Regions from separate parts of the Homo sapiens genome. Here all the other regions are linked to region 1. The links are contacts of gene promoters, found by promoter capture Hi-C in blood cells and fetal thymus (Javierre and others, 2016). All regions are on one chromosome and are shown on one strand. The core of a region is centred on a gene start or on the middle of the fragment in contact, and the rest is flanking DNA. Distances in the headings are between cores, read along the strand shown. Region 1 holds the start of CDC42BPA (CDC42 binding protein kinase alpha). Region 2 overlaps CDC42BPA (CDC42 binding protein kinase alpha). Region 3 overlaps CDC42BPA (CDC42 binding protein kinase alpha). Region 4 overlaps CDC42BPA (CDC42 binding protein kinase alpha).

What was found. The method cuts DNA at HindIII sites, captures the fragments that hold promoters and counts their contacts. A CHiCAGO score of 5 or more calls a contact.
Region 2: a contact is called between a fragment that was not itself captured here and the fragment with the promoter of CDC42BPA in region 1, in 1 of 17 cell types (endothelial precursors). The highest score is 6.2, in endothelial precursors.
Region 3: a contact is called between a fragment that was not itself captured here and the fragment with the promoter of CDC42BPA in region 1, in 1 of 17 cell types (endothelial precursors). The highest score is 5.8, in endothelial precursors.
Region 4: a fragment that was not itself captured here is called in contact with the fragment with the promoter of CDC42BPA in region 1 in 1 of 17 cell types (endothelial precursors); the score reaches 5.5 in endothelial precursors.

Annotation. Positions count from the first base shown.
Region 1 is chr1:227,314,625-227,320,974 of GRCh38, forward strand. CDC42BPA (CDC42 binding protein kinase alpha) reads right to left here and starts at 3,868. Exons shown (of 37, transcript NM_001394014.1): 1 at 2,381-3,868. The coding sequence starts at 2,558. It overlaps LOC124904531 (a long non-coding RNA gene), which reads left to right and starts at 3,968. Exons shown (of 2, transcript XR_007066911.1): 1 at 3,968-4,374; 2 at 4,490-5,437. The HindIII fragment of the contact is 5,578 bases long and covers 1,625-6,350 here.
Region 2 is chr1:227,112,298-227,118,647 of GRCh38, forward strand. CDC42BPA (CDC42 binding protein kinase alpha) reads right to left here. Exons shown (of 37, transcript NM_001394014.1): 13 at 374-616; 14 at 15-125. Among named protein-coding and RNA genes, the nearest start is that of COQ8A, 180 kb to the left of the region's middle. The HindIII fragment of the contact is 1,112 bases long and covers 2,145-3,256 here.
Region 3 is chr1:227,127,702-227,134,051 of GRCh38, forward strand. CDC42BPA (CDC42 binding protein kinase alpha) reads right to left here. Exons shown (of 37, transcript NM_001394014.1): 11 at 1,408-1,530. Among named protein-coding and RNA genes, the nearest start is that of CDC42BPA, 190 kb to the right of the region's middle. The HindIII fragment of the contact is 7,743 bases long and covers 1-6,350 here.
Region 4 is chr1:227,158,017-227,164,366 of GRCh38, forward strand. CDC42BPA (CDC42 binding protein kinase alpha) reads right to left here. Exons shown (of 37, transcript NM_001394014.1): 6 at 2,527-2,620. Among named protein-coding and RNA genes, the nearest start is that of CDC42BPA, 160 kb to the right of the region's middle. The HindIII fragment of the contact is 838 bases long and covers 3,150-3,987 here.

The DNA of each region.
Region 1 (6,350 bases), core at 2,618-5,117:
TAAGAGTAATCTATCATCAGCATAAAGATAAGTAGCATCTAGCTGACACTTTCATTAATATAAATAACGAACACAAATATGTAACAACTTGTGTTATTAATACTGCGTTCCTGTTGCAAATAGTCTTTTAAAGATTTAAATAAAAGACAATATTTTTTCAATTATTAAAAATTAAACTTAAAATTACACCATTTAAGGCAAATCTAAATTACCAAATTTAACCCCAACAACAATCCCTGTAAATTTCCACCAGAGTCCCAAAAAATAATGTTTAGAACACTGAACTGAGGTCAATTCACAATTTGGAAATATTCTTAGTCTTAACTGATTTTCACATATTGTTAAGTAATTAAAATAAAATAGGACATTTCCCCAAAATGCAGTTATCAATTCATATGAAGAACATCTGATCTATTTCAATTCTTAAATAGACTGGCACTCTTAACCTAAATTCTCAAATAACTTAAAGACAGCAAATACCACTACTCACTACGCAACTCCTGACAGCCTTTTCCATTCTTAACTTTCTTTTTACTCTTTATCCAGACTTCCATACTAATAAAAATAATACTCAGCCAAATACTTATTTGATATTTGGCTTATATAAAAATATACATAAATGAGGTGTTCTTATACATATATAAGAAACAACATCCAAGAAAACATATTTAATGGAAAATATATATAAATTATTCTGATAATACAGCGAAATATCTCATAACATAAAACTACTTACCTAAACTCTAATAATCAGAAGGCAATGGAGGATACAGTTTTCTCTTTATCATAAATCATTTAAAATTATATTTACTACTGGTACATAGAGTTCTCCCATAGCTTCGCAGATAGGAAAGAATACTAAATGACAAAAATCACAGACTAGAGTGTCATTAAGGAACCATAACTTAAGAACTCAAGTTCCAACTCTAAAAGTACCAAAACCCTTTAAGTCTTAAAAAAAAAAATTAACACTACAGAATTTCTCAATTTGTGAAACATGGGATGTAAAACTACATATGCTTTACAAAATACTTTATTCAACAAATAAAAGACGTATACTCACAAAACCAGTACCAAAGCCAAAATTGTCTCACTCTTAAGTGAGAAGTTACTTGAAAGATGGTTTAGATTTCTTACATTCCCAGGATGAGTCTGGCAGTCTGTTTTGAAAAGTTATTCTATTCACATTTACATATTTTTTTAAACCTTATGACATCACATTGCTAGAAACCTTCTTATACTGGCAAATTGAATAATTAAAGTTATTACGTGTAGACATTCTTGTATCAGTGGTTTACCTGAGAAACTAACTTTGAATAAATTTCAAATCCAAAAAAAAAAAAAAAAAAAGACACAATCAGCACTTGACTTTTACTTCAGGAAAATAAAGTTTTACTTGGGAACAGATATTTTAGCATAAGAACTTAGCATAAGAACAAACTAAAATGATTAGTATTCCAAAGGTACAAAATCATATTTGGCCAAAATCCTTCAAAAGCCAACGTACCACTACTACAGACAGATCTGGGTGACGATGCGTGCTTATTGCAACAGTGAACTTCTGGACCTTAGAATGTGCCCTGTATGTAACAGCAGACGCTGAAGAACTTGAGCCAAGCCTTCAAGCTTGAAGGTCATGGAGCGTTTGCTCACATCATTGATCTATTCCACTACAGTAGGTCTTCTAAATCACATCTATATTTAGAAGAATGAAGCCAAAAACCTAACCAGTTTAGATTTAAATTAACTTTCGAGTAAAATCTAACTCTCAAGTGGAAGCTGCCCCCAAACATTCTCTAACTACTATCACAAGATTTTTAAACTATGTCATTTAATCTTACAAACATAATTTTTGGAAAGTCCATGTTTAGCAGTTTCCTTTCCTTGTACTATGTAGAGATGAAATAAAACCCACTGATCACCACCTTCAGCTTTCTGTTGACCTAAGGCAAACACAGATATTTTAATATCTCCTCCTATTTTGAGAATAATTTCCATAGTCTGAATGTTTCCACCAATAAATACCTTTCAAATGAAGGACTATTATAGTGCCATGTATTAGGCAACTGTAACCAATAATCCACTTTTGCCCATCACAGAATTGATTTAAAATCTCTTACTGTTGACCTAAAAACATAAGTTCTTCATAGCCAAGTTCCACATTAGCTAGGCCTTAAATCAAGGCAACAATTGAGCAGCACAATTCTACTCCTGGGAAAATATTTACCAAAAACTAGCGGAAAATCTTGAATAACTAGTGTCTGTTTTTTTATTGTATTTTTTCTTTGAACGGAGTAGAGTTTACTCATAACTCTCTATACCAATTAAATCATAATGACCAGCTAAAGATTAACAGTTTCTTTAAAAATTACAAACTTACCCCATTCTAGGTATTCGAGAATGTTCTTCTCTCTTCTCAATGGAGAATTATTGCATTCATCATAAAGGCAGATGAGTATATCCAGTAATGTCTCCACACTGAAGCACTGCCCATTGGTCTGAGCGGGCCCGTCCAAAATAAACTGCTCCAACTGCCTCAAACGCACTTCTCCAGACATGTTTGCTTCGATTTCTGCTGGTTTTCCTTTAAATTATTATGATGACTTTTACTATTATCTGAACCTAAATTTTAAAAGGTATGGTTTTAAAAATAAACCACTTGTTATTCAAACAACTGTCATGCAATGCTGGTGCTGAATTAAACATCCAACACACCAGTAACCTCACTTAACTGAAGCGTCTTCAATTTCACCCATATACATATATTTTGAGGGTAAATTACCATAAAATATATACTTAATGCATTTTTAAAAGAATACAATTAAGTCGTATATTTAAATAAAATAATAATTAAAAGTACAACGAACTAGAGAGTCAACACTTCTTTAAAAAAAAAAAAAAAAACTCTTCTCCTTCATTCAAAATTCAACTCGTGCAACGTAATCCTGAAACGAATCCGGTTGCATCATTAATGAATAAAGTCCGATTTGCATCAGCAATTCACTTCCCGGGAAGAAGAAAAACAGAAAAGGGAGGAAAAAAACAGAATGCATAGAAGGGGGAGGGAAAACCAAAAATGTTGCTGCAAATCCTCCCAACCACCACTTGGATAATGCATCAGCGGCAATTTCTCCAGCGGGAAAGGGAGGGGGCGAGGTCCCTGAAGCAGCCCCTCGGCTCGGAGCACGCCAAGTCTTGCCCGGAGGCGGCTTTTCGTTTCTCCTCCCGAGGTCCTTCTTTCTTTAAGGCTTTGCAGTCAGTCCTATTTTCAACGGATTCCGGTGAAAACTCTTCATTTTCCTCCCGGCTTCACCCTAGGGCCTGACCGGCGGCGCGGCCGGGGGTGGAAGGCGGGCTGCGGGCGGCACTGGCACCGGGCTCCGGAGAAGCGGCTACTTGGCCGCCCGAGCCCACTCCATGTCGGTGGTCGCTCGTGGGCCGAGCCGCGCCGCGCCGCGCCGGGCAGAGAGCCCGGTCTCCCCGACACCCGCACCGGGCCGCCGCGCCGGAGGCTCCCGACGCCCCAGGCGGGGGGGTGCTTCTCTGAATTCAAAGGACACAAGCAGCAGCAGCTGCGGCGGCGGCGCGGGCGGCTCTGGCAGCTACTTCTCCCCCTTCTTCACACCCCTGGGCTAAGGGCATCTTTCCACAGCGAGGAGGGAGGCGGCCCGGCGCAGGAGGAGGGGTCGCTTCCGCGGCTGAGGAGACTAGAGGCTGCGGCAGCCCGGCTCCCAACCACTCCCTTCCTCTCCCTTCCAGCCCTCCCCCGCCTTCCCTCTCCTCTCGCGCTCGCGCCCTGGGCTCAGCGAGGCTCCTCCAGTCCCGCCGCACAGAGGCGGAGGCTTGCGGACGAGTCTGGATCCAATATGGCGGCCTGGCCCCCCGGCCCCGGCACACGCGCGCGCACACGCCCTCCACTCCCCGCCCCCGCCCTGCCCGAGCCTCAGCCCCAGCCGGCGGCCAAGCCGGGCGGGGTCCGGCCGGCGCGCCCAGCGGAGGCCCCCAAGGGGGCGCGGGCTCGGGGCCCGAGTGGCTGCGCCAGCCCGAGGGGAGGGGTGTGGACTGCCTAGGCGGCGAGGCTGCGGCTGCCGCAGCGTGGAATGCGGAGCTGCGGGAGGGCTGAGGGAGGCCCGGGCGGCGGTGGCGGAGCATATGGAGGCGGGATGACCGGGCCGCGCCGGGAGCTGCGGCGGGACTGGGCGCAGGCTGGGAACTGCGCCACCGCCGCGCCGTGGCCCCGGCTCCCCGAGGCTTCTGGTGCAGATCGCGAAGGGGGGCTCCTGCTCGTCCTCGGAGACATCACCTGTCTGGCGCGTTTGTTAAGGGCGCCCAGAAGCAGAGGGCTTTAGGCTTCCGACAGAGCTGGAGGAGACGGTGCCTTTCAGCCCCTTACCTGCTCCCCACCGGCCCCCCAGATTCGGTTCGCGCACACTCCAGAGTAATCGTTTCTTAGGTGTCTAATTACAGCACTTCGTGTGTCATTTCCCAGGACAAAAACAATGACAGACTTGTCCGAGCTACCATCGAAGTCTTGGGTCTGCACGCAAAGGATGGAATCCCCCATCTCCATTCCCAAAAGTTTCCCTACGGGAGCCTGGTGTTGTCTCCTCCGGAACTGTCCTCGCGGCTGCCTGTTTTTCCCTAGCCATGGTTACTGCCTGCGGGGGATTCAGCCTGTGAAGGCAGTCAAGGCAGTTCACCACTGTCATCAAACCTACACCCCTGTGTGCATGCGCACACACACTTGTAACCCAGTGGCACAATGCAGGAATTAGGGAAGCAAAGGCAAATCGCTGAATAGCTAGGGCACCTGATCCCTGTAGGGCCCTTCCAGGTTTTTGTGAATCTCGGTTTTAGGAGAGCTCCCTTTATAAAATTCTCATGGAAGATGCCACATTTAAATTAACACCACAAAACTAGGTCATTGCAGTTCTGTTACTTTCTCTCAAAATTGCCATCTCCTTTATGGTCGTTCTCTAAAATACAATTATTTTATATTCCTTCCCCACACCTGTGAGGCGGTTGTGTTTCTATGTTCATGTCCACAATTGCATCTTACATCTTGATAATATGGAAGCTGAGGAAGAATTAGAAATGAGGGCCTAGACGTAAAATGAAGGCTAACAGAAGTCGATTCAAGTTGTGATTCATGAAATAGTGTGAATCTTTTATGAAATCTACAACGTCTACACTTGCCTGGCTTAAGAACAGCATTATTTTCAATGCGGTCTTGACATGAATGATACTTAGATTCAAACAAAAGGTCAGTCATTTCCAGCCATGACATCTTTATATGGGTGTGTGTTGTCTAATTCTAAAAGTAGTAGAAAAGTTTAATCCTAACACAGATAATAAGCAATATTTTGGTGTTTATTATTCAAGTCTTTTTCCTATGCACTTTAACAAAAATGATACATAATAAAAGAGTTTTATAGCCTCTTGCTTGCAATTAGCAATATATTATGGACATTTTTTCAGTTCAACAAACATTCTTCAACAACATGGATTTTAATGGTGAAGCCAATTTTAACAGTTTCATTTGACCATAAGATGCGGTAGCAAAGAAGGAAGCAATTTCTTCTGCTTTTTCAAGTACGGTTAACTAAAGAAATGGCTCCAAGATACCTGCTTTTCCAACTTACAAATAACTAGAAAGAAGTTTAAAGGAGAACCTAAAACATGTTAGGTCTCACTAAATGCTAATTGACAATGGAAGTATATGAGATGTAGATACTTTTTTTTTTTTTAACAAAAGAGTCAAGCTGTCAGTTCTTTACCTATTCTATTAGCGCTTGGGTACCACCCACAGTCCAGGGTATTGATGGTTGCTAAATAACCCTTTCCACATTATTTAGAAAGTAGAGAGCAGAATTTATTTTTATTTTAAAAAACACACACACAAAGAGAAGGAAGGAGCTTGAACCCAATCAATTTTGCTTGAATAATTCAAGCTCAGAGACTTAATAATTAACTAGACACTAAACACATTGTGCGGGTGTTATTTTAAATGTTCCGGTTGAAGTGTGAACATGCTTGTTAATGAAACCGGTCTTAAGCCAAAGAAAGGCACAGCCCAGCAGCTGTACAGTGCTTGAAGTGTTCCTGCAAAACAAGAGTGCCACAGGCTGCCTCGCAGGGTATTCTTTGGGGAAAAATAGTCTGGAGGAGGTCTTCTTTGTGAAATTCTGCTTGGGGGCCTGGAGATTAGATGTATACCACTGCAAACACCCAATTTGTTTGAAATAATCAGAGAATGTTTTATGAAGATGCTGGGAATTAATCTGACCATTCAGAAAAGAAAGAGGACAGGAGAAGACAAGAAGGTAGGAAGGTGGAAAGAAGAAGGCAGG
Region 2 (6,350 bases), core at 1,451-3,950, 200 kb before region 1:
AAGTCAAAAGATACCTTCAGTCCCTCCAATTCATTTTCCAGTTGCTTAGAATAGTGCTCACTCTGTTCACGTAGCTTCCTGTCTTTAGATGCTTCAGCAGCTAGAGCTTCTGTATGAACTTCCAGCTTTAAAACAGAATGAAAAATGCAGATTTCACGGTTATAATTTTTTTCCAAACAAAACATTTATCCCAATGAGAATTTACCTTGTAACAGGAAGATAATTCAAATGTTTAAATCCATATTAAATAATATTAATGAACTATAAAAATAACTTTAGAAATATTTTAAAAATTATATATTATATTACTAGTCTCAAAAAGCAGCTTTAATCACTATCCCATGGGCACTACAAAATTTGCCTGACTACTAACCTCTTTTTTGGCTCTTTCTGTTCTGCGCAGTTCTTGCCTTAAGCTTTCAACTTTTTGCATCACCAGGTCCACCTCTTCTTCCTTATCTCGGACATGGCGAGCAAGTTTCTGTTTTTGGGTGTGCAATTCTGTTAGCCGCTCATTGATCTCCATGAATTCCTGCATGGCCAGTTTCCTCTGACAGTGTGCGTCTTTCAGCTCTTTGGATTGGTTTTTTAATCGCTCACTAGCCTGGACTAGTTCCTACAGTTTTGTAAAAAGAATATAAGTTACCAATTCTGCAACCTAGAGACCAAATTTGGCCATCAGAATAGCTATCATTAAGTCAAGAAGAGCCAAAATTATTCACCTTAGGACAAATTAAAAGAAATAAACTACTTCTGAACAGATATTAACGGCATGGTGTCCTGATATAGTCTCAATTCCTTATGCTAATACAGTAAATGCACAGGAGCTGCTGATTTAACCTTATAGTACCTTAGTTTCCACAAATGAGGAAAAAGTTTAGGAATAAACGATATGATGGTCAAAATAAATATTTGTGAAATTTAATAAATATGTGTGAGGTTGTTTTCATAAAAAACAAGTGTTGCCCTTGACATGGAGGCTACGCCTCAAGCCAGAAGCAAGGAGATAGAAACTAAACCGGAGACTCCCTAATTAAAATGAGAAACTTAGAGGAGAGCTAAAGTGGACTCAGGGCAGTACCACTACCTGCCTCCCAGCAAAAGGAAATGCAAATTTTCTTTGGGGGAAAGAAGTGCAATGAAATCTGAATTTTTCACATATTAAGAACAAACAAGAATGAGCTCACAACCACAGATTCCAAAATACTCAAAGAACAAAGCACCACAATCAAACAACAAAAACAATAAAAATAAACATCAAAGGTATCTTGGTATTAAAATCATTAGATATCAACACAAAATTGCTACATATGAAATATTTCAAGGAATAAAGGATGAAATAATAAAAACAAAAAAATGACAAAAGGCTATTAAAAATGACCAAGCAGATTTATAGAAGAACTGTATGGAACATTTAGAAATAGAAAACATAAGGCCAGGCACAGTTGCTCTCATCTATAATCCCAGCACTTTGGGAGGCTGAGGCAGGAGGATTGCTTGAGCCAAGGAGTTCAAGATCAGCCTAGGCGACATTGTGAGACCTTATCTCTACAAAAAATAACAATGTAAAAAAAAAAAAAAAGGCCAGGTATGGTGGTATGCACCTATAGTCGTAGCTACTAAGGTGGGAAGATGACTTGAGCCTGGGAGGCTGAGGCTGCAGGGAGCTGAGATCACTCCATTGCACTCTAGCTTGGGCAATACAGTGAGACTCCAACTCAAAAAAAAAGAAAAGAAAAGAAGTGAAAAAATATAAATGTTAAAATTAAAGACATGCATCCATCACCACAGGAAGCTCTACATTTATGAATCAAGAAAAAATTTAGAAAACCCAAACCAGAAGTGTTCAAAAAATGACGCTGGGTAATACCAAAGAGAAATAAAAGACCGTAAAGAAATCAGAGGGAAAGAAAGACAAATCACCTATTCCCCATCCTCAAATAAGGCGGGGAGGAGGAAAATTAGACTAAGAACAGACACTGAAGAAGTAACAACAGCAACAGAAACAGGGTAAAATATTTTCAAAGATATGAGAAGATAATTAAAATTATATACCCCAAAAATTACTTTTCAAGTCTGAGGCTTCATATAAACAAAACTGACAGAGCTTACCATAATCAGATCTGCACTAAAGGAACCAGTAAAGCTTTATTTCAGGAAAAAAAAAAAAAAGATTTTAGAGATCTAATGCAAGAGAAATGAAGAGCTAATAAAATGGTTAACATGAATGTGAATGTAAACAAATGTGTATATAAGATTATACTATAAAAATGTTAACTTTGTACAGTAAACAAAAGATAACAGCTAAAATACTGGCCAATAACAACACATAAAGCTGTAAAGAGGTAATACAGCTTGAATAATCCAAAAAATTTGAAATCTGAAATGTTTCAAAATCCAAAACATTTTGAGTGCCAACATGATGTTCAAAGGAAATGCTCACTGGAGCATTTCAGATTTTGGATTTTCAGGTTAGAAATACTCAATTGGTATAATGCAAATATTCCAAAATCCAAATGCTGGTCCCAAGCATTTCAGATAAGGGATACTCAATCTGTAAAATTAAACGTCTTTAAATTGTTTGTGGGAAATAGTTTTAGGATATTTAACTTAAACTTAAACTTGGTTAATACACATGGTAGAAGCCAAGAGTAACCACCAAAAGACTAGAGAGTAAACTAAAATGTCAACAACAACAACAACAAATTTCAGTGAAGAAGAAATGATTTTGCAAACAAAAAGAGTTCTGGAGACTGCTGCACAAGAATGTAAATACACTTAACATTACTTAACTGTGCACTTGAAAATTGTTTAGATGGTAATTTTATGTTATACGTATTTTACCACAGTTAAAAACTTTTGAGAAGGGAAGAAAGGAAATAAAAAGCAGCATGCAAAAATCATGACAAACAGAAAAAAAGATAGTAGAAACACATCCATATACATTAGTAACCAGTTAAAGGCCATCTATTATACTGGATTAAGAAATGAAATCTTGACTTCAGTAGAAAAAGTATTACTAAGGATAAGGAATATCACTACATAATGATAAAATTCAATACACTAAGAAGAAATATTATCCTAAACTTTTGTGCCTTCTATAAGAGAGTCTCAAAATCATTAAAAAGAAACTGTTAGAACTTCAGAGAAAAATTGGTAAACATCACTATAATGAAAAATTTTAATTTCTTAGTCATTAATAGATAAACCAGGTAGGCAAAAAAAAAAAAATAGTGAATATAAAGACGATCTGAAAAGCTTCATACACAGAAGCTTGCTCTCTAAATTGGAACACGAACTATTTTCAAGAACACACATTGAATGTTTTAAAAATGGAACAGGCTACGCCATGAAGCAAGTCTCAGTAGATTTCAAAGAACAGATACCACGTAGAGCAAGTTCTGTAATGACACTGCAACTAAATTAGAAGTCAACAAAAAAAGATAAAACTCCATATATTGAAAATTTTAAAAGATACTTATAAATAACTCATTGGTCCGTGAGAAAAAGCAGGAATGCAATTCAACTCTTTCTATGGACCAGTATAATCTGAATATCAAAAAAAAGAAAAGAGGAAAAAAAAAAACACGTCAATCTCACTTATAAAAAACAGTGAAAACCCTTTTTGAAAATTAGTAAATCAGTTCCAGTGATATATAAAGTAGATATGCATGAAGTCTGGAGCTAAACTCCTTGTGCTGAAAATCTAGCTCCACCACTTTCTATTTCTATGACCTTGAGCAAGTGAACTAACTTCTCTGTGCTTGGTCTCACCATTCATAAAATGAGAATAACACCTAACTCATGGGGCTGTGATGGAGATTAAATAATTTAATATATGTAAAGCATTCACAACAGTGCTATTAGAACAGATATTTGCTACATAAATGTTATCTATACTATCACAGTATTATAAGAAATTTGGGCTTAACCCAGAAATATAACAGTGGCTTAATATTAGAAAAAGTCTACAAACGTAGTTCACCACACCAACTTATTAAAGGACAAGAATCATATAATCATATCAATAGAGCACAGAAGGGCACATTTAATAAAGTCAGTATCCATTCTAAATAAAAGGTATTAACAAAATAGGAATAGAAGGTAACTTCTTTAACCTGATAAAAATTATTTATTAAAAACTTACAGCAAACATTATTAGCGATGAAATATCAGAGGCAGTTTCTTTAAAATCGGGGAACAAGATGGGGATGCCTGCTATTATCATTTCTAGTCAACACTGTACTGAGGTTCTAGCTAATACAGTAAAACAAGAAAAGAAATGAAAGTCTTTTCTGTATGAAATTTTATGGAAGAACATTTTAAAAGAACTTTAAATATATGGAGAGATATCATGTTTACAAATAAAAAGACTTTAGGAATGCAGAGAAACTTTTATGTTTTTGCAGCTGGTCCCTTTTGAACAAATTTTACCGAAACCTGGGCTAAATGAAAGTCTTAAAAAGTAACTTATAACTGATTTAGTAGTGAGAAAACTAAGAGATTTACCTTCTGGAGGTTATGTGTTTACATTTCAAGGTGGGGTGGGAGAGAGTAGGAGCCTGGACCAAGGGGGCTTCCTTTGATGGAGCAGGAGACTCTGGGCTTATATTTCCAGAGGGAATATTTATCTATATTCCAAAGGGTTAGAGAAAGAACCCAAGATCCTTCTCTTTAGATTTCCAAGGAACTCTCTCAGAACAGGAGAAAGCAGGAAGCAGTTGCTTCTTTCCTCTATATAAGCACCTGCATAAATGTTTTCAAGGCTCCTCATTTACAACACAGACTCCTTATGTGTAGGGTTTTATCCTGCCAGCTCTCAGGGTATTTCTCTTGGGGTAAGACTTGGCACAGAAGGGAGCCATGTAGTTATTCTTTGCTGTATGTAAGTAATAACAATCCGTTCTATTCTGGAAATCTGTGTGTATATTCAGAAAAATAGTAATAAATATAGATAGTAAGAACTTAAAGACAATATTGTAATGATGTTAATTCTCCCTAAATTGACCTATAAATTCAGTGCATTTTTTTCCCCCTGAGATAGGGTCTTGCTCTGTTGATCAGGCTGGAGTGCAGTGACATGATCATGGCTCACTGCAGCCTCAATCTACCAGGCTCAAGTGAACCTCCTGCCTCAGCATCCTGAGCAGCTGGGATGACAGGTGTGCACCACCCAGCTAACTTTTTTATTTTTTGTAGAGACTGGGTCTCATTCTGTTGTTGCCTAGGCTGGTCTCAAACTCCTGGACTCAAGTGATCCTCCTGCCTCAGCCTCTCAAAAGTGCCAGGATTACAAGCATAAGTCACCATGCCCAGCTGATTAAATGCAGTTTTAATCAAAATTCCATCTTCACAGTTTTCAAAAAATAGTTGAGATACAGACCTAAAAATTTAAAACTTTAAGATAAAAATTTAGGAGAATTTTTTAAAATCTCAGATTTTTTATACAAGACAGCAAATACACTAACCATAAAAATATTGATAAATCTGGCCACAACAAACCTAAGAACACTTTTTAATAAAAAGATTCCTAAAAGCAAAAAGATAAGCCACTGAGAGATATTTGTAACACATATAACTCACAAAAGATTAGAATGCCCAAATATTTCCAAGAATTCTTATAACCAGTAAGAAAAAAACCCAACAGAAAAATATACAAAAGATATTAAGAAGCATTTCACAAAAGAAATGTAAACGACAATAGACCCATGTGAAGATACTTGACCTCATTACTAATTAGAGAAATGCAAATTAAGACCACAACCAAACATTTTCTAAAACCTAAAATCTCAATTTAGACTAGATTGGCCAAAAGTAATAAATCTGGAAATATGAACACAGAAACTCTACACTACTCGTGGAAATGGAAGTTGGTATGCTAGAAAACAGTTTGGCATTATAAAAAATCAGAATATTTGCTAACTCAATCAAAAAATGGGCAAAGGACCTCAGTGGACATTTCTCTAAGACGACATACAAATGGCCAATAGGTATATGAAAAAGTATTCAACATCACTAGTCATAAGAGAAGTAAACATCAAAACCATAATGAGCTGTCACTTCACATCTATTGGAATGGCTATTTTTTTTAAAAGACAAAGGATAACAAGTGTTGGCAAGGAATGTGGAGAAAAATCATTTTCTACTGCCTATAGGATATTAAGCAAATCACTCAAAGTCCTTTATTGGTATAATCTGTTTCTTTTCGTCAGCACTATCATCTTCTCAAAATATATAAAAAGGATTTTTAATACTAAAACATTAAAAATTGGTGACCACCTGTCACTATAAATCTAGCTATCTGATTTTCATCCTCTTTCCAAAGGGTTAGAGAAAGAATCCAAGATCCT
Region 3 (6,350 bases), core at 2,347-4,846, 190 kb before region 1:
TAACAGAGATTAGATATATAGATATTTCTTAGGAGGAGAGCCTCTTAAAAACACAAAATAGCATTCATAAATTATGCTCAAAACTAAGATCTCCATATATTTAATATAAACAAAGTATTAATATGGCATTTTAAATAGTCATTTTTATAAAAGATGCTACATTAGATTATTTCTTCTCTTTCACTTATTTTTGCCTAAAACTACCTTTCTGGAGAGGCCTCACCATTCTCGTTAAAATAGTACCTTCTGCTCTCTCTCCCTATCCCTCTGCTTATTCAGATCATGTAATGCCTCTAAACCCTGCGAAAAACTGCCATTTCATTCTGAGTAAAAACCAAAGACCTTACAACAATCAGTAAGGCTCTACTGATCAGGCAACAAGCCCATTTCACCCCTTTAGTTCTCATTTCCTTCCATTCTCCCTGCCTGCTCATTCTGCTCTAGCCATCCAGTACTCTCTGTTTTACTTGAACACCTGGGGCACATTTGATTTTAGAGTTTTTGCACCGGCTAGTCCTTCTGCCTGGAACACATATTTTGCAGATAACTGTATGGCTAACCCCCTTGCCTTCTTTAAATTTTTGCTAACATGTCACCTTCTCAGTCAGGCCTACCCCTGGAGCACTATATTTAAAATGATAAAACTCCTCATTTTGCACATCTGACTAATTCTCCTTATTCTATTCTTATTTTTAAAGCACTTATTACCTTCCAACATATTGTATCATTTACAAAGTTATATATTTACTGGTTTCTGTTTTCTGTCCTTTACCCAGGCCAAAGCAAAGAATTTTTGTTTAGTCTGTTTTGCTTAATGTTGAATCCCAAGAGCCTAAAACAACACCTGCTACATAGTAGGTGCTCAATATATTTATTGAAAAAATGCAATAAATGAATAATAGGTATACGAACACTTGTCAAATTTAGTTTTAATCTCAGTAATACACTGAAAAAATAATTGCATTAACAAAGAAAATAAATTTTCTTGATGCCTGTATACATGCACTCTGCTTGTCTCTAGTGTCCTTCTTCCTCACTCCTAACTCACCTTTTCCTCTCCTCACAAATATGCTTTGCCAGACAAATTCCAAAATGAATAGGCCTTCCAAAAAAGCCATCCTTGTTCACGTAAGTCTGTGTCAGGTGATCCTCCTATGTACTCTCCACGTACCTCCATTTATTTTTCCTGATAGCCTTTTCATATGTATTGCAATAACTGTTTATCTGTTTCCCAGACCAAAATGTGAACTCCTTGAGAGCAGAACCCATTCTTATTTGCCCTTCCCTGACTAGCATGCAACTCACATCACATAACACAGACAGGTTCTCAATAGATGTTTTTTGTGTGAATAAACCATTTTTTAAACATTTCCTAAATTGAATTAACAGTGAATCACAGATATTTACCTGTTACTTGTTTTCTTAGTTTTTCAATTTCTTCTTTTAAGTTTTTTATTTCTAAATCTTTGCTTGCTGTTAGTGGACCATCAACAGTTGAATACTGCAGAGCTTGGACAGTCTGTGTTGACTCTTTAAAAAAAAGGATAAAAGAAATAAAAATATCACCATACTCTAAATTCTTAAAACTAATAACATTATTTTTTTGGAGAGAAATTCTTATACAATTTTATAGAACAAAACATCTACTCACTGACAAAAAGCATGTGAATACTCAAAAATTAAGTCATAAAAAATCAGACCAGGCATGGTAATCCCAGCACTTTGGGAGGCCAAAGTGGGAGGATCACTTGAGTACAGGAGTATGAGACCAGACTGGGCAACAGAATGACACCCTTTCTCTACAAAAGATATAAAAATTGGCAGGGCATGGTGGCACATGCCTGAAGTCCCGCTACTCAGGAGGCTCAGATGGGAGAATTGCTTGAGCCCCGGAGGTTGAGGTGGTAGTGAGCCTTGATCATGGCACTGTACTCCATCCTGGGAGACAAAGTGAGACTGTATCTCAAAAAAAAAAAAAAAAAAAAAAAAAAAATCCACTGCATATATATATATACAAAAGAATCCACCTTCTAATAATTTTTGGTTTTAAATACTATTGGCGTACTCTGCCAATGAATCAACTACATAGCTCCTTTTTCTCCTAGTAGGAACATCACCATGTGATAACTCAAAAGCCTGGTATGTCAGTCAGATGCTATACGAAGAACTGAATCTGGTTTACAAATGGAGAGTTAGGCATGTTAATATACATATGCAGAAATGCTGGCCTTCCAAATTTTATGTCTGAAAGTTGAGGCCCAGCTACAGGTAACCATGGCTCAACAATTTAGCTAAAATATTTAGTTAAAATAGAAAATATTAATTTATCTTGCACTTCTAATTAAAAAATACAAGGTTTTAAAAAAACAATAACTCTATTGAGGCTTATTCCCAGATATCATCAAAAGACATGGAACAAAGAAAACATTTTTTACCATTTTACATCAGAAATGAAATTGCCCTTTGTTCTAAAATAGGTATTCTGCTATTTATGGAGGGATTCTCACATAATAAGTCTCTCCCTTACCATAATTCTTTATGAGTTAGTGCAAATCATTACTGATTACTTTGTGTGTGCATATGTACGTGTGTGTGTGTGTAAACCATAATCCCTATATGTTTGGCAGTCAATAAATATTTGTTAATTTGAATTAAAGGTATAAGATATACTAGATTGTGCATCTGATGTTGATTTTCTGCATCCTATAAGTATTTCTTATACATTTCTTTCTCTTTGGGTTCAAAACATACTAAAAACTGGTCCTTTCCGTATTTATTATTTTGAAAAGAACATCCATTGTTTTTATTTTTTAAGACATCTAAATTGGGGGTAGAAAATGGGGAGACATAAAAATACCCAATGCAGGGGAGGTGTAGGTGCGGTGGCTCATGCCTGTAATCCCAGCGCTTTGGGAGGCCAAGGCAGATGAATCACCTGAGGTTGGGAGTTTGAGATCAGCCTGGCCAACATGGTGAAACCCCGTCTCTACTAAAAATACAAAAATTAGCCACGCATGGTGGTGCATGCCTGTAATACCAGCTACTCGGGAGGCTGAGGCAGGAGAAACGCTTGAACCTGGGAGGCAGAGGTTGCAGTGAGCTGAGATCATGCCACTACACCCAGCCTGGGTGATAGATCGAGACTCTGTCTCAAAAAAAAACAAACAAACAAAAGACCAAAGAATACCAAATGGACATTAATAGGAGCTACTTTTCCTCCTGTACCCCACCTACCACAGGTATGAAGGTGGGGCAGGCATCCTCGCTCATTATTGCCACCTCTTTCCTCAAAATTCCTAGGTCTACTGAAATGACCATTTCCTGCTTATGTGGTTATCCACTTGTCTTCCCTATCTTACTCTTTTTTAAATAAGGATTTTACATGTTGTTCTCTGCTGTTCTTTCCATTACTACTCTTCTTATTATTCTTAGTAACTTTAACATCAAAATAGATAATCCATCTAACACTGACTTCTGAGGCACATAAATCCCCTACGGCAGATACTGCTTGTTTTTACCCGACATCTATTCATCTCTTCTGTCTTGTGAACCAAATTCAATTATCAGGCTACAGTGTGCACATGTAAGGTGGGCCCAGTCAAAACTGGCTGGTTTAAGTTAATCATAATAATTCCATTCTACATTGCAAGTGTTGGTCAAGAATTAGGTATGTGACCTAGTTAGAACTTAAATGGTACCTTGAGAAGAAGTCCACTAGGGGGCTTCAGGGAGAGGTTTTAATCTCCCATTAAATGAAAGATGTATGAAACTAAATGAATCTTTCCACTTTCTGGGTCTCTGGATATGTGCAGATATGAAGATGGAATTCTTGGTGTACTCTGCCAATGAATCTACTTAGCTCCTTTTTGTCCTAGCAGGGAACATCACCGTGTGATAAATGAAATGCCTGGTATGTCTGTCAGATGATATATGAAGAACTGAATCTGGTGTATGAAGGGAGGTCTTACCTTCCAAAGTTTACATCTGAAAGTTGAGGCTTACAATATTGTGGAATCATGTAAGGAAAGCCAAGAAATTAATAGGGAAGCTACCCTAAAATTGGCACTGAAACCATTTACTTCTGACTTAAGTGAGAAAATAAATCCATATTATTTAAGAATTCTCACATCTGCAGCCCAAAACAATCTAGCTGATAGACTTCTCTCCAGCATAACCATCAGATTAACTGGCCACATCCTAAACTAGTGGTTCTCTACTGCAGGTGGTACCATCACCTTATGTAAGGGGACAGGAGAACGGGAGTCAGTTGTTGACACAGCACATGAGGAGACTGCTACAAGCATTTAACATCTGGAAACTCAGAATGTTCAATATCTCAGAGTGTGAAACTCTCTCTCATGTGAAAAAATTACCTCACCCCAAATGCTTGTGGTTCACCAATTAAGAAATTCAACCCTCTCCCTCTCCCTCTCCCTCTCCCCACGGTCTTCCTCTCCCTCTCTTTCCACGGTCTCCCTCTGATGCCGAGCCAAAGCTGGAGAGTACTGCTACCATCTCGGCTCACTGCAACCTCCCTGCCTGATTCTCCTGCCTCAGCCTGCCGAGTGCCTCAGGCGCGCCGCCACACCTGACTGGTTTTCGTATTTTTTTGGTGGAGACGGGGTTTCGCTGTGTTGGCCGGGCTGGTCTCCAGCTCCTAACCGCGAGTGATCCGCCAGCCTCGGCCTCCCGAGGTGCCGGGATTGCAGACGGAGTCTCGTTCACTCAGTGCTCAATGGTGCCCAGGCTGGAGTGCAGTGGCGTGATCTCGGCTCGCTACAACATCTACCTCCCAGCCGCCTGCCTTGGCCTCCCAAAGAGCCGAGATTGCAGCCTCTGCCTGGCTGCCACCCCGTCTGGGAAGTGAGGAGCGTCTCTGCCTGGCCGCCCATCGTCTGGGATGTGAGGAGCCCCTCTGCCTGGCTGCCCAGTCTGGAAAGTGAGGATCGTCTCTGCCCGGCCGCCATCCCATCTAGGAAGTGAGGAGCGCCTCTTCCCCACCACCATCCCATCTAGGAAGTGAGGAGCGTCTCTGCCCGCCCGCCCATCGTCTGGGATGTGGAGAGCGCCTCTGCCCCGCCGCCCCGTCTGGGATGTGAGGAGCGCCTCTGCCCGGCCGCAACCCCGTCTGGGAGGTGAGGAGCGTCTCTGCCCGGCCGCCCCGTCTGAGAAGTGAGGAGACCCTCTGCCTGGCAACCGCCCCGACTGAGAGGTGAGGAGCCCCTCCGCCCGGCAGCCGCCCTGTCTGAGAAGTGAGGAGCCCCGCCGTCCGGCAGCCACCCCGTCTGGGAAGTGAGGAGCATCTCCGCCCGGCAGCCACCCCGTCCGGGAGGGAGGTGGGGGTCAGCCCCCACCAGGCCAGCCGCCCCGTCCGGGAGGGAGGTGGGGGGGTCAGCCCCCCGCCCGGCCAGCCGCCCTGTCCGGGAGGCGAGGGGCACCTCTGCCCGGCCACCCCTACTGGGAACTGAGGAACCCCTCTGCCTGGCCGGCTGCCCCGTCTGGGAGGGAGGTGGGGGGGTCAGCCCCCCGCCCGGCCAGCTGCCCCGTCTGGGAGGTGAGGGGCGCCTCTGCCCGGCCGCCCCTACTGGGAAGTGAGGAGCCCCTCTGCCCGGCCAGCCGCCCAGTCCGGGAGGAGGTGGGGGCGGACAGCCCCCCGCCTGGCCAGCTGCCCCATCCGGGAGGTGAGGGGCGCTTCTGCCCGGCCGCCCCTACTGGGAAGTGAGGAGCCCCTCTGCCCGGCCACGACCCCATCTGGGAGGTGTACCCAACAGCTCATTGAGAACGGGCCATGATGACAATGGCGGTTTTGTGGAATAGAAAGGGGGGAAGGGTGGGGAAAAGATTGAGAAATCGGATGGTTGCCGTGTCTGTGCAGAGAGAAGTAGACATGGGAGACTTTTCATTTTGTTCTGTACTAAGAAAAATTCTTCTGCCTTGGGATCCTATTGATCTGTGACCTTACCCCCAACCCTGTGCTCTCTGAAACATGTGCTGTGTCCACTCAGGGTTAAATGGATTAAGGGCGGTGCAAGATGTGCTTTGTTAAACAGATGCTTGAAGGCAGCATGCTCGTTGAGAGTCATCACCACTCCCTAATCTTAAGTACCCAGGGACACAAACACTGCGGAAGGCCGCAGGGTCCTCTGCCTAGGAAAACCAGAGACCTTTGTTCACTTGTTTATCTGCTGACATTCCCTCCACTATTGTCCTATGACCCTGCCCAATCCCCCTCTGCGAGAAACACCCAAGAATGATCAATAAAAAAATAAATGAATAAATAAATAAATAAATAAATAAAAAAGAAATTCAACTATACACTTTGTCATTATCAATAACTGCATGGCCTCCAA
Region 4 (6,350 bases), core at 2,319-4,818, 160 kb before region 1:
ACACCATCTTGGCTCACTGCAACCTCCACCTCCTGGGTTCAAGCGATTCTCCTGCCTCAGCCTCCTGAGTGAGTAGCTGGGATTACAGGCATGTGCCACCATGCCTGGCTAATTTTGTATTTTTAGTATAGACAAGCTTTCACTGTGTTGGCCAGGCAGTCTCAAACTCCTGACCTCAGGTGATCCACCCTCTTTGGCCTCCCAAAGTGCCGGGATTACAGGCGTGAGCCACTGTGACCGACCTATGATCACTTCTTTAATTCTCTGTCTGCTAAGTCCAACATGTGTGCCAGCCAGGCCTCTACTGACTGCTTTTATCTGACTCTGTATCACTATCCACATGCCCATTTTTGTTTGGTTCAGTGATTTTTTTTTTTGAATCCTTGTCATTGTGAATAAGATGTTATAGAGAGTATTGATTCTATTATCTTCTTATGAAGAAAAACAATTCTTATGTAAGCACATAAAAAAATTACTGACTGATCTCCTTGACCATGAGTTAGCTTACAGATACACTCTGTGATTGTAGGTTCATACAAAAATCTAAGATTTGTCATAAGCCCCTCTACTTGGAAGGAAGACTTCCAAACTCTATGGATCTAATCAGGGCTTGGACTTAGGTTGTTAGAGAGTAGGTCTTAGGTGATACAAAGGTGTTAGCTGGCTCTCCAGGGATGAAAATTCAATTTCCCCTAGCACTGTTTCCTGCCTGGGAGATCTGCTTGATCATTAGTATTCTGGTCTGTTTTCAAATGCTATCATCTGCTATTGTCAAGCCTCATATGGTCTTGTGGTACAATGCACAGCCCAACCTTCATGAGGCACTTTATGCCCTCTCTCTGCACAATTCCCTCCTCTCCAATGCCAAGCCCTGCATATTCCAGCTGCTGCAGGTAGTCCAGCTCTGCTTTCACTCTAGCTTTCTGCATCAGAGTCAGGAACTGCCCCAGTCTTTGCGCAATCGTGAGGAATACCTCACGAGTTCATTTATGTCAGGGATAATAGTATTATGCTGCCTGTTGTCCACTGCTGGAAAACAGTAGCTTCAACTATTGTATCCAGTTTTACAGTTCCTTACAGTGGGAGTGCTAATTTGGTACCAATTTAATCCCTCTATCATGGCCAGAGACAGAGGTCACATAATTCTTTTTAACAAAGTTATCACTGTAGGACAAATTTTCCAAAGTTGGCCGGGCACGGTGGCTCACGCCTGTAATCCCAGCACTTTGGGAGGCCGAGGTGGGCAGATAACCTGAGGTCAGGAGTTTGAGACCAGCCTGACCAACATGGTGAAACCCCATCTCTACAAAAAATACAAAAATTAGCCAGGCGTGGTGGTGCTTGCCTGTATCCCAACTACTTGGGAGGCTGAGGCAGAAGAATCACTTGAACTCAGGAGGCGGAGGTTGCAGTGAGCTAAGATGGCGCCTCTGCACTCCAGCCTAGGCAACAGAGACTTTGTCTAAAAAAAAAATAATAAAATTTTTCCAAAGTTAAAATTACTGGTCTAGAGTAATGTGACATTTTCATGGCTTTTGGAATGTATTATACTAAACTGTCCTCCAAAAAGTTTCTGTCAATTAAACTGATATATTTTTGGACCTCTCCTATATGGCCAGAAAAAAATGAAGTTAAAAAAAAAAAAAAACAGAATAAAACTGTGGCATATAAACTTTTTTTTTTCTTTAAAACAGAGACAGAGTATCACTATGTTGCTTAAGCTGGTCTCAAACTCCTGGACTCAAGTGATCCTCTTGCCTCAGCCTCCCAAAGTGTTGGGATTACAAGCGTGAGCCACCATGCCCAGCCTTTTTTTTCTGGGTGGCTCTGGGGGAGTGAGGGGGTGGGAGACAGGACTTCACTGTTGCCCAGGCTGGAGTGCAGTGGTGCAATCTTGGCTCACTGCAACCTCTGCCTCCCATGCTCAGGAGATCCTCCCACCTCAGACTCCTCAGTAGCTGGGACTACAGGCACGCACCACCATGCCCAGCTATTAAGTAAACAAAAAAAACCAACTGACGGGTTTAGGGTTAGCAAAAGTTAAGCAAATGGGAACATGAAACTAAATCAACTTGTGAACTTTCTGAAAAAGGGATTCATTTGTTGAACACTATCCCTTAGAATAACTAAGCAATTTAGGAAAGAAAGACAAAAAAGTAAAAGTGCGGGCAAAGCTGCGTTTTCTTTTTCTATGTGAGACTTAGTTCTTTTACCCCCGGTGAACTTTGAAATATCTAAAGTACAACAGAAGTCACCAACTAAAGAAGGAGCAAACAAGGGTCTCATAAAGGGTATATTTTATCAATCTTAAGATCACTGATATAAGCAGCTGAAATGGCTTGTGACTTTTTAGACAACCCCACTGTAAGTATGCCCAAATGCCTTTGTGGAAGGAGGTGGCGCATAGATAGACAAATGGATGGATGGGTAGATAGTATAAATAGATGGTTTCTAAAACAGATATATCAGACAAATAGCAAGGGAAATGTCTGTGAACAAAATAATTTAGGATTTATCTTTATTTACCGTTCCATCTTCCATCAGCTTCAGACAAGAACCAAAATCTGCTAACCGAATATGTCCATTCATATCCATCAGTATATTGTCAGGTTTAATGTCTCTGAAAAAATAAATAAATTCAATTTTTAGTGGAAAAATAAACAATTCATTGTTTGGTAAGATATTCTTTTTGTCAGAAAAAAATCTCAACTTATTTTAAAAGTAATATTCTAAGAAAATCTATTTAATTACTTTATTAATTCAAATCCTGGTTCTGATTCATATTAAAACTTTCTCAAACACATGTAATTTCAGTATTCTTCTAGAGATAAAAAGTAGTGTGGTAATTTTCATTCTGGTTAAATTAATCTTACTATCTTTCCTTTTGATTTACACAGATTCCAATGTGACTATGGTAGACCTACTTTCTGCATACAGAAGAGTCAACATTACCTGATAACCACAAAAAATACTATCCTCTAGCCCATGAAACTGGACAGGGAAAAATATACTTTCTAGACCTTAAGATAACTGCAGATAGATAAAGTCTCAATTACTGCAGGTCATGACAACACAAAGAAATTGCTTCATAAAGTTGATTTTACAGAAGAACTAAAACAACTGCCTAATAGACTGTCTATATTATTTAAAGCTTTCATTGTCTTTGGATGTTAAGTCAATGGTGTGTAAGATACCCAAATCTAAACTATATCATATACCAGCTTTTGTATTTGTTTTTGCATGTGAATGCAAACCTTAGAAAAATAATCATATATAAAATGGTTCTGTAAAGAAGATTCTCAGGGACTTAACAATATTAAGTTTCTAATCATAGTAAAGGTTGTAATTGTGAATAACTAAGAGATTATACCCACCCAACTCACTCTACTTTTAGAGGGAGAAAAAGAATCTCTGGAGAACCTATATATTTTTTAAAAAATTACATTGCCATGTAAATTACAGGAATATGGGAGGGCTACTTTAACCTGAATAATGCCATTTAAGATCTCTATGCTTCAGTTTTACCACCCATAATAAGGGTAAAATATTATAACAGTATTACTTTGATTACTGAAGCAATTTCTCTGAGTGTGTTGTATATCACGAGTTAGTAAATTATGGCCCACGGCCAAATCTGGTTTGCTGCCTGTTTTTGTAAATAAAGTTTTATTGAAACACAGCCATGCCCATTCATTTAGGTATTGCCTATGTCTGCTTTCACACTACAAAGGCAAAGTGAGTAGCTGTGACACAGACCACATGGCCTACAAAGCCTAACATATTTACTCTCAGGCTGTTTATAGAAAAAGTTTTCAAACCCCTATTGTAGATGATAGATGGTTGCTAAAGAGAGACAGGGTGATTGAAAACAACAATCTGTATAGGGTATTAGCTTTATAATCCTCAACATTTGACTGTATTCTAACCTGTTGAAAAAGATCTGCTGTAGAGGAAACATCAAAGAAGTACAGTTTAGTTCTGGAAGGAAGCTTAGCAATTACTAAGACCATTTTTAGATGAGGAAAAAATATTTTATTCTTTATCTTAAAAATTAAGCTATACAGTCACTACGAATTACTTCTACTGGTATAGTACTTCTTAGATTGTAAAGGAGATTAAAGGAACTGCAAAGACAGGATTTATATGCATCAATAATATCTTTGCTTATTTTATAGATAGTAATTATAAACTATATACATATACATAAAGCATATTATGTGAATATATTTTATTCATAATACTATATAAATAAAATAGAAAATACTAAAAATTAACAAGACATTACAGATAGTACTGAAAAACATAAGTATTCTATTACCATTCCTGATCTCATCCTCTCCCTCCACTACCCAGACATAGCTACTATCCTAAATTTGGTGTTTACTGTATCCATGCATATTTTACACTATTATGCCTATATACAACATCATAAAACTATGTACTTTTTAAAATGTCTTTATAAATGACACCAAACTGTGCATTGCCTTTTGCAACTTGGTTTATTCAAATATTATGCTTCATCAGCTGGGTGTGATAGTTCATGCCTATAATCCCAGCACTTTGGGAGGCCAAAGGAGGCCGAGGAGGGAGGATTACTTGAGCCCAGGAGTTTAAGAACAGCCTGTGCAACACAGTGAGACCCCTTCTCTACAAAAAATAAAAATGAAAAATTAGCTGGGCAGGATGGCACATGCTTGCGATCCCAGCTATTTGGGAGGCTGAAGTGAGAAGATCACCTGAGCCTGGGAGGTCAAGGCTGCAGTGAGCCGTGACTGTGTCACTACACTCCAGCCTGGGTGATGGAATGAGAAACTGTCTCCAAAAGAAAAAAATAAAATAAAATAAATATATATGTGTGTGTGTGTGTGTGTTTCCAAACATATATGTGTGTGTATATGTGTGTGTTTCCAAACATATGTGTGTGTTTCCAAACATATATGTTTCCAAACGTGTGTATGTTTCCAAACATGTTTCCAAACATGTGTATGTTTCCAAACGTGTATGTTTCCAAACATATGTGTTTCCAAACATATGTGTATGTTTCCAAACATAAATGTGTGTATGTTTCCAAACATGTGTGTTTCCAAACATATATGTGTGTATGTTTCCAAACATATGTGTGTGTATGTTTCCAAACATATATGTGTGTATATGTTTCCAAACATATGTGTGTATGTTTCCAAACATATATATGTGTGTGTATATATGTTTCTAAAACATCTATTTTGGGACATATTGTTTTAATTCATTAATTTTAATTAATTTTAATTATATACATATCAAAATTTATCAATTCTCCTGATAACGGAATTTTGATTGTTGCCCATTTTTATTTTGTTAAAACACAGAATGCTGGATGAATATTTTAATAAATGTCTTCTAGTACTCATATATGAATGCTTCTCCAGACTATAGATGTAGAAGTGAAATTTCTGAGATGAAAGATATGGACATCTTCAACTGTGCTAGCATGATTACGAATACAGTTGAGAATCTTTTCATATTATCACTGGTATCATTGGTCATTTTACATTCCTCTTCTATAAAATGCCTGTTAATATCCCTTGCCGTTGTAAAAATTGTGTGTGCACTGTTTTTTGTTTAATCTTCAGGGATTCTATTTACTCGAACTTAGTTCTTCATGATGTGTTACAAATCCCTTCTCCCTGCATGTGGGCTTGTTTTTCCATTGTTTTTAATGTCCTTCTTATTTGTAAAAAAAAAAAATATATATATATATAAAATACTAATGTAGTCTTATAATTTATACTATGATTTCTGTCTTCCCAGACATCATAAGGATGGTGTCCTAATTTTCTCTTGTGTAAGTTTTAAAGTTATGCTTTTCCAGTTTTTAAATCTACCGGGGATTAATTTTTGTGTGTAGTGTGAGATAAAGGGCAGTTACATTTCTTTCTACCCCAGCACCATTTACTGAATGATATCCTTTCACCACTATTATCTAATACCACATACGTCATAAATTTAGTGGGTTTGTTTCAGGACTCTCAAGAAGAGCAAAAATATTACTGTATTACTCTATTTTTTTTCAGTTGACAATCTTTACAGTGAAAGGGAGCCTATTAATAATTGCCAGGATAACAGGCATAAATTGGAACTCTCCCACACAAGCCAAGATGAATGGCCACCCTATCCATATGCCTCTACCTGCACCAATACCACAGTGTCTTAATTATAAAATAATGAGCTTCCTATCGGCAGAGCATATTTTTTAATTGCCATTACTCTTCTAGATCAATGCTGGAATTAGCTTAATATGTTCTATAATACATATTGAAATTTTTATGGGAATCATGATTTTATAGATTAATCTGAAGAGAACTGACATC